Linked DNA regions of Homo sapiens: region 1 is linked to region 2. The links are contacts of gene promoters, found by promoter capture Hi-C in blood cells and fetal thymus (Javierre and others, 2016). All regions are on one chromosome and are shown on one strand. The core of a region is centred on a gene start or on the middle of the fragment in contact, and the rest is flanking DNA. Distances in the headings are between cores, read along the strand shown. Region 1 has its middle 86 kb from the start of PRICKLE2-DT. Region 2 holds the start of PSMD6-AS1 (PSMD6 antisense RNA 1).

Region 1 (6,743 bases), core at 2,696-5,195, 350 kb before region 2:
CTAGGATGCTGTAGCTTAGGAGTGAAATTACGGTATTATTTTGGCTACGTGGATATTATTGTTAATCTTGGTAATTTTAACAACCTTGTCATAGCAGGGCTCTCCCATTTACCTAATGCTTTCAGACACCTCTGTTCACTTTATCCTCACAATAGTCGTGTGCAATAAAGTTTGTTTATGTCCATTTCCATAGATACTGAGTGACTGACTCAAGATCTCAAAGCTTTATTGTGTTCGGGCCAACACTTGAGGGTTTGTATCCATGGCTTTGACTCAAAATCCAGGATTGTTTCTACCATTCCGTAATCACTTGCCCAATAGCCCTCCTCAGTTATTAAAGTGATGCATTTCTTTATGTGTCAGGCTCCATAATTAGACTGTCCACATTCAAGGCTTGGCTCACCTTTCTATCCATAGGAGACTTAGTAATCTTCCCCAGCCATCCTTGACCCCATCCTTTTATCTCCAATGCACATACACCCAATGATTCAATGCAGGAGGGAAGAAAATATTAAATATTTTATTCACATTTATTTTTAGATAACTAAACTTCAGTAATCTGTAAATACTTTTATTTTGAAATAATTCTCAGAAAGTTGCAAAGGTAATACTGAGAGCTCCTACATACCCTTCTCCCTGCTTCCCCTAGGGTTAATATATTACAAAATCATTGTACAATATCAAAACTAGGAAATTAACATTAATGCAGTGCTATTAGCAAAACTATAGACCTTATTCAAAATTCAGCAGCTTTTCCATGCATGTTGTTTTTTCCTGATCCTGGATCCTAGCCAGGATCTCACATTGCATTTAGTTGTCCTGTCTCCTCTAGTCTCGTCCTCCAGTCTGCCACAGTTCCTGTCATTGTCTTTCCTAGAGTGTCCTTCCATCTGAGTTTTCTGATATGTTTGCTTGATTAAACTGAGGTGGGCTTTTTTTTTTGTTTGTTTGAGACAGGGTCTGCCTCTGTCACCCAGGCTGGAGTGCAGTGGTGCGATCTTGGCTCACTGTAACCTCCGCCTCCTTGGTTCAAGCGATTCTCCTACCTCAGCCTCCCAAATGGCTGGGATTACATACATGTGTCACCACACATGGCTAATTATTGTATTTCTAGTAGAGATGGGGTTTCACCCTGTTGGCCAGGCTGGTCTCAAACTCCTGACCTCAAATGATCCACCCGCCTCAGCCTCTCAAAGTGCTGGGATTACAGGCATGAGCCACCATGCCTGACCTGAGGTTGGCTTTTTTGACAAGACCACAGAAGCGATGCTGTGCCCTTCTCAGTGCAGCATGTTGGGGGTAGGCGATATGGTGACATTACTGGTTATGCTTACTTTGATCACTCATTTAAGGTACTGTCTACTAGGCTCCTCCACTGCAAAACTCTTTTTCTCTTTGTAATAAGTATCTTGTGGGGAGACACTTTTAAGACTTTGCAAGTATCATGTTTCTCATCATACTTCTGCCCACCCAATTTAGCCTCCATTAATGATTTTTGCTTGCAACACCTATTACTGTGCTGTTTGCTTAATGACCTTGACTATTTTAATACATAAATTCTCTTTAGTGCTTTTACTTAGATGTCATGTTACATGGTCATATGCCAAATATATTTTTCCATTTTCTTTTCCTGTTTCTCTTCACACATGTACACATTTCTTACCCATTTACAATAATAGTTCGTGGACAAGTTTATAAATACGTTGCTCCTTTAAAAAAAAACACACACACAAAAATTTTTCGGGAAGCCTATCACTGACTTATAGAATTGACAGGCGGCTGTTTCCTCAGGCCACTGAGCTCCTGAGTGCTGTGTTTCCATTCTGTTTCATGAGCAGCTTCCTGAGGCGTCTTGCTCAGTGGGCAAATCAGCATGGCGGGGGCCAGCGTCTGGCAGCACCAGTCTCCATGCATCTTGGGAAGCAGATTACGGGAAGTGATGGATGCTGAGATCGGTTTTGACAGATCTCTAATTTTCTCTCTAATTGAAAGCTGTTGTTGGAGGTGGTTCTCAGTGGTGCCTCTTGTGGGAATTGAGTTTCCGTCACCTTCTGAGCCCTTGCAGCTTTCTTCTCCTGCTGGCCTCTGTGGACTCTGGGTACTAAGGGATGAGAAGGATGCCAGGGCAGAGGAGGAGCAGTCCAGCAATAATTGTATTCTAACCTGGGGAGGAAGAACCAAGTGTCTCTTCCGTAGATGGGAGTGGATTATCTGGCATTAAAGTTCACTTGTTAGTGCTAGGTTAGCAGTAAAAAGATGAAGTTTAAAAAAAAATTAAAGATTAAAAGGTGGGAGCAGAACCTATTCTCTTTTTCATAAATGATGGTTGTTTGCTTTCAAAGTGCCTTCCAGATAGGCAAAGAACATGAACAGAAAGAAAATGTAGAGAAGCGGAATCCACATGTAGATAGGGATATGAAAAGTTCAGCTCTTGAGCAGTAAGTGCAGTGCAGATTCAAGAAAGAGTGAGGTGCCGTTTTACCTGTTAAGTCAGCAAAGGCTTTTGCGGGGAGGGAGATTTGTTTGTTTTTTATTTGGTAACCACAATGCCCGGTGCTGATGAGGTACAGGCAGTAGACAGTTTCATACATTTGATGTTGAGTGTATATATTGGTTCAAAATTTCTGGCAAGGCATTATCAAAAACCTGAAAAATATTCATGCCCTTTGACTCCACATTGTCATTTCCAGGAATTCTTGATAAGGAAATAATCCAAAAAGAGGAAAAAGAAAAAAAAGAAAAAAAAACTGTATCACTTAGGTATTTATAGCAATGCTATTTTTTCATAATTATGAATTGGAAATAACAAAAATATTTAGCAGTGAGGTTATGAAATGGTCTAGCAATAGGGGACTGGAGTATTAATCAAAATAATTTAGCGATTAACAATGATGTTTACAAAGAGTTTTATGAAATGGGGAAAGCTTATGATATATTGATAAATGAAAATTGTATATTTGTTCCTATTATTTTAAAAACATTTAAAAAATACAGGAAGAAAATATGCCAAAATTCTAATGATGGTTGTGTCTGGGTGGTGGAAACTCTCCCCACCCCCACCTTTTTTTAAAATTTCTTGCATACTTAGTTTGTTTAACTCTGCTCTATTCAGCAGTTTTTCAAAAATTAATATTGATTAAATGCCAATGATGTATCAGCATTGATTTATTGTAGCTCTATTTGTGTTAGAAGTATTTTAGTTTTTATATGTTCATTGATTGATTACAGCACTGAGAGTTGCTTTCTCATGACTGCTCAGTGGAGTGTCTTTCAGCTGATGAGGACTAACGTGTCCTTGTTTTGAATGAAACTCTGGGTTTCTCTATCGACTTAGCTGGTAGCAACCATCCCCAGCAGCCTGGACAAAAGTGCACCAGCAGGAGATCCACCTGCATGGGTCCCTGTAGGTGGCCTCACTGTCAGGGTGGGGCTCGGGGATCTGATGGCTGCAGGGCTTCAATGACACAATTGCAATGTGAAAGTTTAAGAGGTTTTATTACTTACAGACCCTGGTGGCACACAGCAAGCCTGGAGGCCGCCACACACAGGGAGTTCAGGGAGCCCAGGCAGGGAGACAGAAGACAATGTGGCAACCATCTATACATATTTGGGAATAGATGTGGGTCACTTTAAGTTCACAGGCACATGCCTAAATGGTTCATGTAAGGGAAATTGCAGGGAAAGCTGGAAGCCCAGTCTGCTAGGTGGGCTAAGTTCTTATCTCTGCTAAGTTCTTACCTCTGGCTCCTGGCTTGAGCCATTTGGGTGTGGTATAGAACTGGAAACTGTCAAAAGTGACACTGAGCTCTGTCTCTGGCATGAGAGAGTTAAACTTATATTTAGAATGGATGCCAAGGCAACATAAAATTATAAGCATTCAGCACAGCCCTTCTATGCTTTCCACAGTACGAATATGCTGTCAGTCTGTGACTTCTCCATCCTTCTCCCCTGCCATTACTGCATGGTCTCATGACACTATGGCCCTGTGATATCAGGAAAGGGCCGCAAAAAATGGTGCTAAAGGTGCCGTGAAGATGCCAAGGAAATCTATAAACAATAGATGTAAAAAATGCAAAATTCACAGGAAACTGCTCTTTAGGAAGTGGCCAGGAAAACAGCATGAAAATCAACTGGTGATAGGGCTGTGGTGATAGGGCTGTGGTGCAAGTCACCTAGCATCCTGCGGGCACCACAAACATCACAGCTGGAAGAATTAACTAACCATTGTGTAGAAAAGTAAGTGGAGGGTATGAGAAAATATAGCTAGAGAAATGACATGGCTTTGAGGGCTTAGAATACACAGAGGAGGGTTGCCAGCGTGCTGATGCAGAACTTTATCTCCATAAGTCCTGGGCTATAAGGATCCCGTATAAGTGGCTTAGTTAGCCCTTCTATTTCTAGGAATTCATTTTCCAAACATGGTGAGTATACACACACACACACACACACACACACACACACACACACCCCAAATTTGCTAAAACTGGCTATGCACATGAGTTTTATATTGGGGAGTGAGGTCACATATTTTTAAAACAAGGGAAGAACAGAGGAAGGAAGGATGGAAAAGAAGGAGAGAGAGAGGGCAGGAGACAAGGAGAAAGAGAGAAAGAAGGGGTTGGGGGGAAAGAGAGAGGAAGAGAGGGAAGAAAATGGACAGACAAAAACAAGAAAGTGCTTTTCCAGTGAACTGTCAATGTCACACCCTGGTTTCAGGTGGTTGTTTTGGATCTGCTGGACAAGTATGGTTTGGAAACTGAAAGTTAGGTGAGTTCATGATTTTGTAGATTGTAGATGTCACCTGGCTGGGACCTGGGGAAATCACTGTCACATGAAAAGAGCTTGTTTCTGTAAATGTGCATTTGGGATGTGGGCCTTGTTCTAACCTTGGGTGACCCTCAGCTGCTTTGGCCTCAGTTTTCTCATCTATAATGTAAAGGGTTTGGAAAGTGATCTTCAAGCTTCTTCCAGTGATTTTGTGGCCCAATATGAGTTATCTGGAGATCTTCTCAACTTTGCAAGAGAAGGAAACAAGCCTTATTCTGCCAGTAGCCCTGGAGTTAACATGTTTCTTCTGGTATAAGTAAGACTTCCATGAACTGTGGTTGGGTGCCTGAATAAGCAGAGTCACCTCAAGATGATCTTTTTTTAGATATTTGCAAGAGGTTTTAATAGCTCCACAAATAGTTGGAGGTCAAAATAAGGATATTTACAACATGGACTATGGTAAATTAAATGTCATGCCTTGTCAACATTCATCCTCTCAGAGGTCCTGTGAGGTAGGTATATCATTATACCCATATTATGGAGCTCTAAAGAGGTGAAGAAGTCTTGGAAAGTCACATCACTAGTAAGTGTTAGAGCCAAGAGTAGAGTCCAGCTCTAGTGTACTCTAAGATCTGTGTATTGAATCGTCATCTGTATTCTTTCTCTCTACTGTTTTCCTACCAGAATCAATGGAATTCACAAAATACCTAAGCCTTGGTTAACTCAAACAATGGTACCAAAATGGCGGTTACAGACAACAATACTCCTGCAAATGTGTTTGTTTGACCCATAGAAATTTTCTTAAAGAATGGAGTCAGTTGCTAATGTTTAGAAATTGGCAGTTTCACATTGGGACCACAGCACTGCAAGGCTGGTTGGAGCTCAGTAGCTGTTGCCCCCTTCAGGAACATTTGCCTCTGACTTGCCTCCCTTATTAATGTTAGTTCTCAGTTTGAAAGAAAAATTCAACCTTTTGGATAGTGAGAAAAATGGTACAGTCAGTTCCTGAATGATTACAATGCAACCACAGTGACAATAGAATTGAAGGTGCTACACATGTAAATAACTCCTCCTTTCCCCTATTCCCCCTTTAAAAGTAACTGAATACCATGTCTGAAAATAAAAAATGTGCAAAACTTTATCAGGTACACACTGTGCAAAAGTATTCTCATATTTGCAAAAGGCTTTACCAGAATATCCTTAAAATGATGAGCTCATTTAAGTTATTATTCTTTTATAAAAACTTTGAATTTAGTGCAATTTCTTAGAACCTCTGATATGCAGACTGTGGTCCCCCTGTATTTAAATAGTTTCTATTTCTCAAGGGACCATGACTAGTATGGCAATGCTGGGGAGGGTGTAGTGGTAGCAGTGTATGTAGGTGTTAGAATTGCTTAATATTTTTAGGGCCTGAGAAGCCTCAGTTCAAACCCTGGCTCTTACATGTACTAGCTGTGCATTTTTGGGATACCTGCACAACTTCTCTGGGCCTCAGTTTTTTGTTTTGCTTTTGTTTTTGGTAAAATGGAGTTGTGTGAGTAGGAAAGTATATTTGAGTAGAAAAGTACATATATACATATATGTACTCATTAATATATGTGTTTATATAATGATTATCTGTGTTACTTTAACATGCTGCCTGGCACGTTGAAATAACACACCTTATTATAGCTATTGTTTTTCTCTTTATGGGATTCCCCAAGAAACCCTTTTTGAAATTTCTCTCAATCCTGACCTGACCACCTCCTAATATTTCTTGAAAATCTTTTGAACATTTGAGAAAATAGTGCTCTACGGTAGGTGACTTTTCCCTTCTATTGAAAGTAAGAGCAGGAGTAACTGCCTGTGCTTAGAAAGAAGGAATTACTTGTGAGCAATATCATAGTGATGGCATTTGGAAATAAGGCCAGTGACCCCAGTGAACTGGCTTCGGGCTGAAATCCTGTGCAGAGCCTGGGATAGCAGTAGGCCCAGTT
Region 2 (7,477 bases), core at 371-2,870:
AGGACTGGCTTTTTGCCCCTCATTATCGATACTATGTAAGAGAAATGAGAATTCATGCATACAGTCAGCTGCTGGAATCATATAGGTCATTAACCCTTGGCTATATGGCAGAAGCGTTTGGTGTTGGTGTGGAATTCATTGATCAGTAAGTTTGAATAATGCCATGTTAATTGAAGTTTTAAAGTTGCCTTTTAAAATATGTGAACTTGTACAATTTTTTACTTGTTTACATTGGTTCCCTCAATCTTAACGGGGAGGGGAGAGGTTTTTTTCCTCAGTATTATCAAAACATTCGTATCCTGTTGCCTCTGCCTTCCTCATGTCATGTCTGCCCCTTGCATTAACAGATGGGAAGATGAGTTGTAGTGAGGCTAAGTGATTTGTTAAAGGTCATTAGACCAGTTGTTATCAAAAGTTGTCTTCTGTTACTTCTTTGTAGACCACACTGCAGCTACGGTAATGACTCTTAGATCTGATATTTACAGTTGGTCATATTCCCTCTGATAATTCCTTCCAGTTTTTAGGTTGCTGCTGCAATTCTGGTCAGATTGGTTGTTAAATGTGGGACTTTTAGTACTTGCATCAGTGATTAAACAAATAAATACTTAATGAGCCATTCATTACTATATGTTTGGTATTGTTTTACAGCTCCCTTTTCACACTTTCATTGTAGTAGTAGGGAAGAGATGGCAAGGAAGCAAATAAATATAAAACGTAATTTCACATATAGAAATGAACCTATGGAGATGAGAAAATGCTATCCTTACGTACGGCATGCTTAAGGAGGTGAGGTTTGCTCTGAGATTTGAATTGAGAGGAGTCAGCCATATGGAGTCCTTCTGCGTGCAGAAAAGGGAATAGAAAAGGCTAAGGCTTTGAGCCAGGAATAAGCTTGGATGTTGTAGGAACAGAAAATGTCAGGGTGGCTCCAGCATAGTTGGAGTGGTAGGAGATTTTGAGGATAATATATGGAGAGTTAGGTAGGTAATGATTTGTGTAGGGCCTTGTAGGTCATGGGATGGAGCTTGAGTTTTAAGTAAGTTTGATAGGGAGCCATTGGAAGATTTAGAGCCCAAGTTACATGGTCCTATGCAGTGTCTTTATATAAGAAATAGAGTAAGGTGGCAGAGAGGACCAGTTGTGCTGTTTAGTAGCTCTTAGAGGAGATGTTACCGTGGCGTGGACGAGGGTGGTGAGAGTAGAGTTGGGTAGGAGACATACTCAATATGGGATGTCCAGATGGCATCTAGATCAGTGGCTCCCACATGTAGGTGTTTTTAAATGTTGATGATGGTGTTTTCAATGGTCTGCAGTGGAAACTTTAAATGAAGATGCATTTCTTTTAAATAAGACCATTCTCTTTCTAGTATTTTTTAAATTTCGAACATCCATAAAATTGTAAAGAAAGAATTGTACAGTACATTTTAACATATTTGCTTGTTACAATCTATACATTTTATGTTTTTTAACCACTTCAAAGTAAGTTTCAGACACCAACACATTTTTTAAATGATCCCTACCATTTTTTAAATGATCCCTACCAAAATGGAAGGCTGGTATCCCAAGGTTTTGTTCCATTTCTCAATTCTAGTCTGTGAAATTGAAGTCTGATGACCACTCTTAAGAGGGCTGTTCATTAGGGTGCGGGCTGGGCATTATGAGTGTGTTTTTCATGAGTCAGTGGAAGGAGGGGCTTGTTGTGAGCAGTGCATGAGAAAAACGGCTTGGCTTTGCTTCTTTTTCCAGCTCTGTGGCCTTGGTCAGGTTACGTCTCTTCAGTATCGTAACTGTAATGTGGAGATAAAGCCTTCATTAGTTAGGGGCACACACCGCAGTATTCCTTAAGTCATCTTGATGACAAGTGAATGCAAGGCAGCTGGTACCTTTCAGGTAGTAGTTGAATTCAGGTAGTATTTGTTCAGTTTTTTTTTTTTCCCTTCATGTTCTAAGACCAGCTTGAGAGGCAAAGGTTGTACCACTGAGCTCTAGTTGTTGTTACCTAAAAAGGCCTTGTTTTAAATTTCTGTGATACCTAAGAATTTCAAATCTGGGTTGTCATGGATTCTTTATTCTTTTTTTCTCCCTTAAAAAGTTACATTTTAGATGAAATCCCCTTTTTTAAAATGGGCAAAGCAATAATTCTACATCATTTCTCCCCTTCCCTTCCACTTGTTTAGACTAAGATATGTTAGAGAGGGAAAGGGTCGTTGTTTTAGTAAATACTATTGCTGTTGACATGTTAATACTATTGCTGTTGACATGTTTACTGATGGGCTGTGTTCCATAATTTTGTTTTAGGTCTTTTGTTTGAAACAGTTTACTGTTTTTATCAGTTTTGGTCCCTAATTTTTCCTAACCTACAGTTTTTCTCTGAGTACATATGGTTTCATTGTTTGATCTACTTTCTATCTATCTGAATATGAACTTCTAGGATCATGTTTATTCTAGTAGATGATGACTTAAAGCCTGCAGTATAGGAGGGACAACGTCAACTACTGCATGTGCAATAACAAGCTTGAAGGGAAGCTAAATGTTTGTTACAAATTTAAGACAGTATTTTAATGCCGTTTGCATTTTTCTAAGAATTTTCTATAAAGCTAATTCTGTTATTTTTTGTCTCTAAATTAGGGAACTGTCCAGGTTTATTGCTGCCGGGAGACTACACTGCAAAATAGATAAAGTGAATGAAATAGTAGAAACCAACAGGTACTCTCATTTCTCAGAATAAGGGGCATTCCTAAATTTTAAAAGTAGGTCAACTATTGTCATGGAATAATGTGACTGGTAAATAATTCATTTTTTCTTGAATTTATTTATAGACCTGATAGCAAGAACTGGCAGTACCAAGAAACTATCAAGAAAGGAGATCTGCTACTAAACAGAGTTCAAAAACTTTCCAGAGTAATTAATATGTAAAGCCATGTAACTAACAAAGGATTTGCTTTAGAGATAATTATTTGGAATTTTTATAGCTTACTTCACAATGTGCCCAGGTCAGCTGTATAAAATAAATACTGCATTGTTGTTTCTTTCCATTTATTTTTTTCTTAAACACATAGGCCTTCTAGAATCGGGTCCACTTATGTTAAAATAATGTCACTTGAATTATTCATTAATGAAAATCTGGTTTATAGGGTAAGGTTGCAGCTGGGTTCAGCTAGGTTCAGCTCCTGACTGCCTCATCAGTAAAATACGTCAGTAAAATACGGATGTTGACACAGCCCATTATCGCTTACCTTTAAATCTCTTACCTGTAAGCTTCCCGATTTTAGAAAGAAGAGTAGTGGCCTAAAATTAAACAAACAGTGTCTCCCACTTTTAGTATACAAAAGATAGAAGATAAAGAAAATGTGTAATAAGCTTTCCCTCAGAAACAAGTAACCATATAAGGCAGGAAGTTACTCTTTTTTAGGAAGCTGACATAACCTGGATTACAGAATCTACCAAGGCTGATCTCAGTTTTCTAAAACCTTATATGTAAGTATTTATTAGCAAACTGAATCTTTTTTCCAAAAGTAGGACCATAGTAATAATAGCAGTGAGGAAAACAAAGTTGTTCCTCTGTTTGTTTGAAACAGTTTATTAGTTTTATCAGTTTTATTCAGTGTGTCAGATAGGAATAAGTGCTATAAGAAGTATAAAACCAGATAGACAGACAGATAGATAGATAGATAGATAGAGATACAGGGTATAGGCCGTCTTCTGAGGTGTTGTGGAAGGCTTCTATGGTAAGGTGACATTTAAGTGAAAAGGAGGGAGAGCCCATGAACGTATGGAGGGAAGAAAGACGAGGAAAGTCACTGGCAATTTTAAGTGCGGATTTGGCTTACCTTTTACGTCTCACTTACGGCATTCGGTGGCATGGATTGTACAGGCAGCTGGATTTGCTAAAAGATTGAAGAATGGGGTGAGGAGGATGAGGGGGAGAAAATTTGTCAGAGGAGATCCTAGGCTTTTTGGCTTAAGTGAAAGACAGCTAGTGACCTTAATGAGCAGTTTTGGTAGAGGTGAGTTCAGAAGAGAATGGGAAATGGCATTTTACTGTAAAAGGCAAGGGAAGGAAAGAAGAGTTTTGAGTTTTTTTGCTTTAAATAACATTTACTGATGGGAATGATTCCTGTTAACATATTAGGAATAACATATTCCTAATATGGAATTCCTAACAGGAATAACATACTCCTGTTAACATGATCTCATTTGATTGAAAATAATTTGATATAATTCAACATTTCTTCATGATAAAAAAACTCTTCAGTAGACTATGAATAATAGGTTGGGATATCAAAGCCCTATCACAAGGTAATTAATGGCAAAATATTAGAAGCATTATCTTAAAAGTGAAGACAGCAGCTCTCATCGCTGGAAGAAGAGCCATTGGTTGTATGCCAAGGAAAGCAATGTGGCTAGATCTCTGTTTTGAAAGGAGTTTCCTGTAGGCACTGTATTGTGGAGGGGAGGCTTTTAAAATGCTGACTATGCCTAATGTATTTGAGAATATCCACCTATGAATTTCTAAAAATGCTTATCTAGAAAACATTTCTTAAAGGAAAAAAACCTCAGCTTTTTGGTTTTCTACAGAAAACCAAAGCTAGTCAGGAATGCAAAGGTGGCTTCTGAATGCTACAGAGTTGCAGTTGTTCACCCACAGGCGGCAATTGACACACCCTAAATACTTTTCCAAGAAAAAAATTTATAGTTACCACGTAAAAGTTGACAGTTTAAAAACCACATATCTAGCTTCTCTGGAAAAAGGACAGGTGAAGCTAAATCTGGACTCACGCTCCAATAAGCTGAGCGACAAGCATAGCGTGTTTTCCAGTGTGCCCCAGTCCACCCAGTCTGTTCATATACACTGCCTGTCTGCCTGGCCCCTGCTGGCATTTGAGCTTGTTATCCCTGCACTACCCCCAATATTGTGCATGTGAGGTTGATGGTTAACAGCCTCCTGTGTTAATCAACTAAGACAGGGGTGTCCCATCTTTTGGCTTCCCTGGGCCACACTGGAAGAATTGTCTTGGGTGACACAAAATACGCTAAGGATAGCTGATGAGCTCAAAACAAAACAGCTCATAATGTTTTAAGAAAACTTACAAATGTGTGTTGGGCCACATTCAAAGCTGTTGTGGGCTCTGGGTTGGACAAGCTTGAGCTAGGAGAAACTATCCAAAGAATTCCTAACCTTTATCCTGTCTCTAGTAGCTTTAACTGGTACAGCTTGTTTTCTGAAAGTCTTAATTTTCTGCTTTTATTCAAGAAGGTTACTTCACAATATGAAAATAAGATTATGAAATGATGCTAAAACAGTTATACATAGTTCCTTTTTCATGTTGGTAAATGTTTTCTTTTGAAGTGGGAAACAATCTTATTTTTAACCCTGGTTTCAGTCAAAAGTAACTATCCTAGTGTGAAATGATATCGCCAGGATAAACTATCTTTTGTGATTATTTTTAAAGCAGAAATGCCAGTTTCTCTTACCTCAGTAAAAGTTGATTTTATAGCAAATCTATCGAGTAAGAGCTAAATATTTTAAAGCTATGTCAAATTATGGTAATCTATTTCCTGTATTAGAAATAACAGCTTTAGGTCAATTTTTAAGCTATTAAAAAACAGTGTCTCTTAGGACAGAAACAGTGTAAAAACCACTTTTGTTAAGCACCCAACTTTTACCTGCCCCAGATGGCTAGAAGGATGCCTACAACTTGATCACTAAGCATGCAATACTCAATACACTTAGGATTTTGTGACTGAACACATTTGGTCTTTTATAACCTGACCAAACATTAACTGATAAAAGGCTACTAAATCATTAGCAAATCATTTCTGTAATTTCATATTCTGAATTAGTCCTTGGTGCTGCTGTTAACCTAATGTTTTTAAGATGAACAGCTGACAGCTGAAATATCTGCCCCCATGATTATGGGGGAAAAAGCGTGGAGGGAACTATGATAATCCCTGACCTTCCCAATGCTACATAAACTTGTAGTTGCTGGTAACAAACCTGTGCCTCCACAATGGCAATGGGGGAGTGGGGTAAAATCCCCATCTGGATAACATGAAAAGCTCTGATAATCACTAGTTTTGGTTTCAAAGCTGTAGAGCCACAGATTTGCATTATGCTTGTGTTTCTGAAGGAATACAAAGGCTATCAGGAATTTGTAGCAATCTGATCCAGGCCATTTTAACCTTGACATACATGGTCAAAGGGTATAACCTTTTTTTTTTTTTTTTTTTTTTCCCCATTTAAAAATATCTTACAGTGGCATAACTTTCCCTGTACAAATTGGGTTTAAGAAACAAAAGGGACAATTTGCTAATCAATGATGAGCCTTTAATCCAACCATTATATATCCCCTTTCCATCCTTAGATCCCTTGAAGAGACCATTTAGTTAAGACTACCAACAGGTGACACCCTGACCTCCTTACCAACCTTGCCTTTTAGAGGTGACCAGAGACCTGTGCTTTTCCAAAGTACTGTTATACGTGTAATTAGTATAATATCAATGTGGGGAAACTCTACCTTTGGATTTTGAGGACTCTGCTTTTCTTGAAACCCTCTGGGTTAGAGACTGTTTATTCATATGCACCTCAGGAACTTGAGGCCAAGATGAAGTTCACTGTTTCCTAGTCCTTTGCTTGTTCTCCTGGCCATTATGTTTCCACCTTCATTCAAAATGCCTTCTCTTTGAAGCTGCTTATAACCCAGCAACACCATCAACTCACTGTGCTCACTGTCCTCAATCACACATCTCCAAGTCACTCTCCCCTCTTCCATGCAAATCATCCCAGAACCAAGCAACCCTAATTTGAAATGGACAACCTATACAACACCCTTGGCTTCACAGTTCCTCAGCCTGAATTCCAGTGCTCTTTTCCTCCATGCTGCTTCTGTCCACTGCCATGGTTTCCACCCAGGAATCACAAGCACCTCTGGCCAGTTCTGCTTTTGAAAATAATACTGGAATTCCAATTCCTCTGGCCAGTTCTGCTTTTGAAAGTAATACTGGAATTCCAATTCCTCCATTCCCTGTCCTATTCCTAAAAGTGCTGTATCACTTTGATAACTCTGGCCCCTGGATCTCACCTTGTAGCCCCTCACTTTTATTGGCCATGTGGAATTAAATGTGGACTTTGCTCTGTGACCCTGAACAAATCAATTGTCTAATCATAGAAAAAGTTACCTGGAAGGAGATTCCTAAGACCTAACAAGAAGATAATTCCAGTCAAACCAATGTCTTAAGAGCACCTGCATAGATTCTACATGGTTGGCTTCTAGTTCTCTTCCCTGAATACCCAGTTCAGACCATCATCAATCACTCAGCCACATCTTCACTCTTTGGCAATCTCCCTGCTCAAGTTCTATCTTTTCCACCCAACCAATACATGCTGTTCCAATTATCCTGGAGAAAACAGCAGGGCAATAAAACGTTAACTAAATAGGTAGATAGCATTGGTAATTATAATGGGATTGACTCAAAA

Evidence for each region. The method cuts DNA at HindIII sites, captures the fragments that hold promoters and counts their contacts. A CHiCAGO score of 5 or more calls a contact.
Region 1: a contact is called between a fragment that was not itself captured here and the fragment with the promoter of PSMD6-AS1 in region 2, in 2 of 17 cell types (megakaryocytes and naive CD4 T cells). The highest score is 7.2, in megakaryocytes.

What each region holds. Positions count from the first base shown.
Region 1 is chr3:64,355,715-64,362,457 of GRCh38, reverse strand. No RefSeq gene overlaps it. Among named protein-coding and RNA genes, the nearest start is that of PRICKLE2-DT, 86 kb to the left of the region's middle. The HindIII fragment of the contact is 2,037 bases long and covers 2,927-4,963 here.
Region 2 is chr3:64,006,107-64,013,583 of GRCh38, reverse strand. PSMD6-AS1 (PSMD6 antisense RNA 1) reads right to left here and starts at 1,620. Exons shown (of 2, transcript NR_189168.1): 1 at 1,542-1,620. It overlaps PSMD6 (proteasome 26S subunit, non-ATPase 6), which reads left to right. Exons shown (of 8, transcript NM_014814.3): 6 at 1-145; 7 at 2,629-2,706; 8 at 2,820-3,033. The coding sequence ends at 2,916. It overlaps PSMD6-AS2 (PSMD6 antisense RNA 2), which reads right to left. Exons shown (of 3, transcript NR_038286.1): 2 at 3,831-3,887; 3 at 1,341-1,787. The HindIII fragment of the contact is 1,623 bases long and covers 894-2,516 here.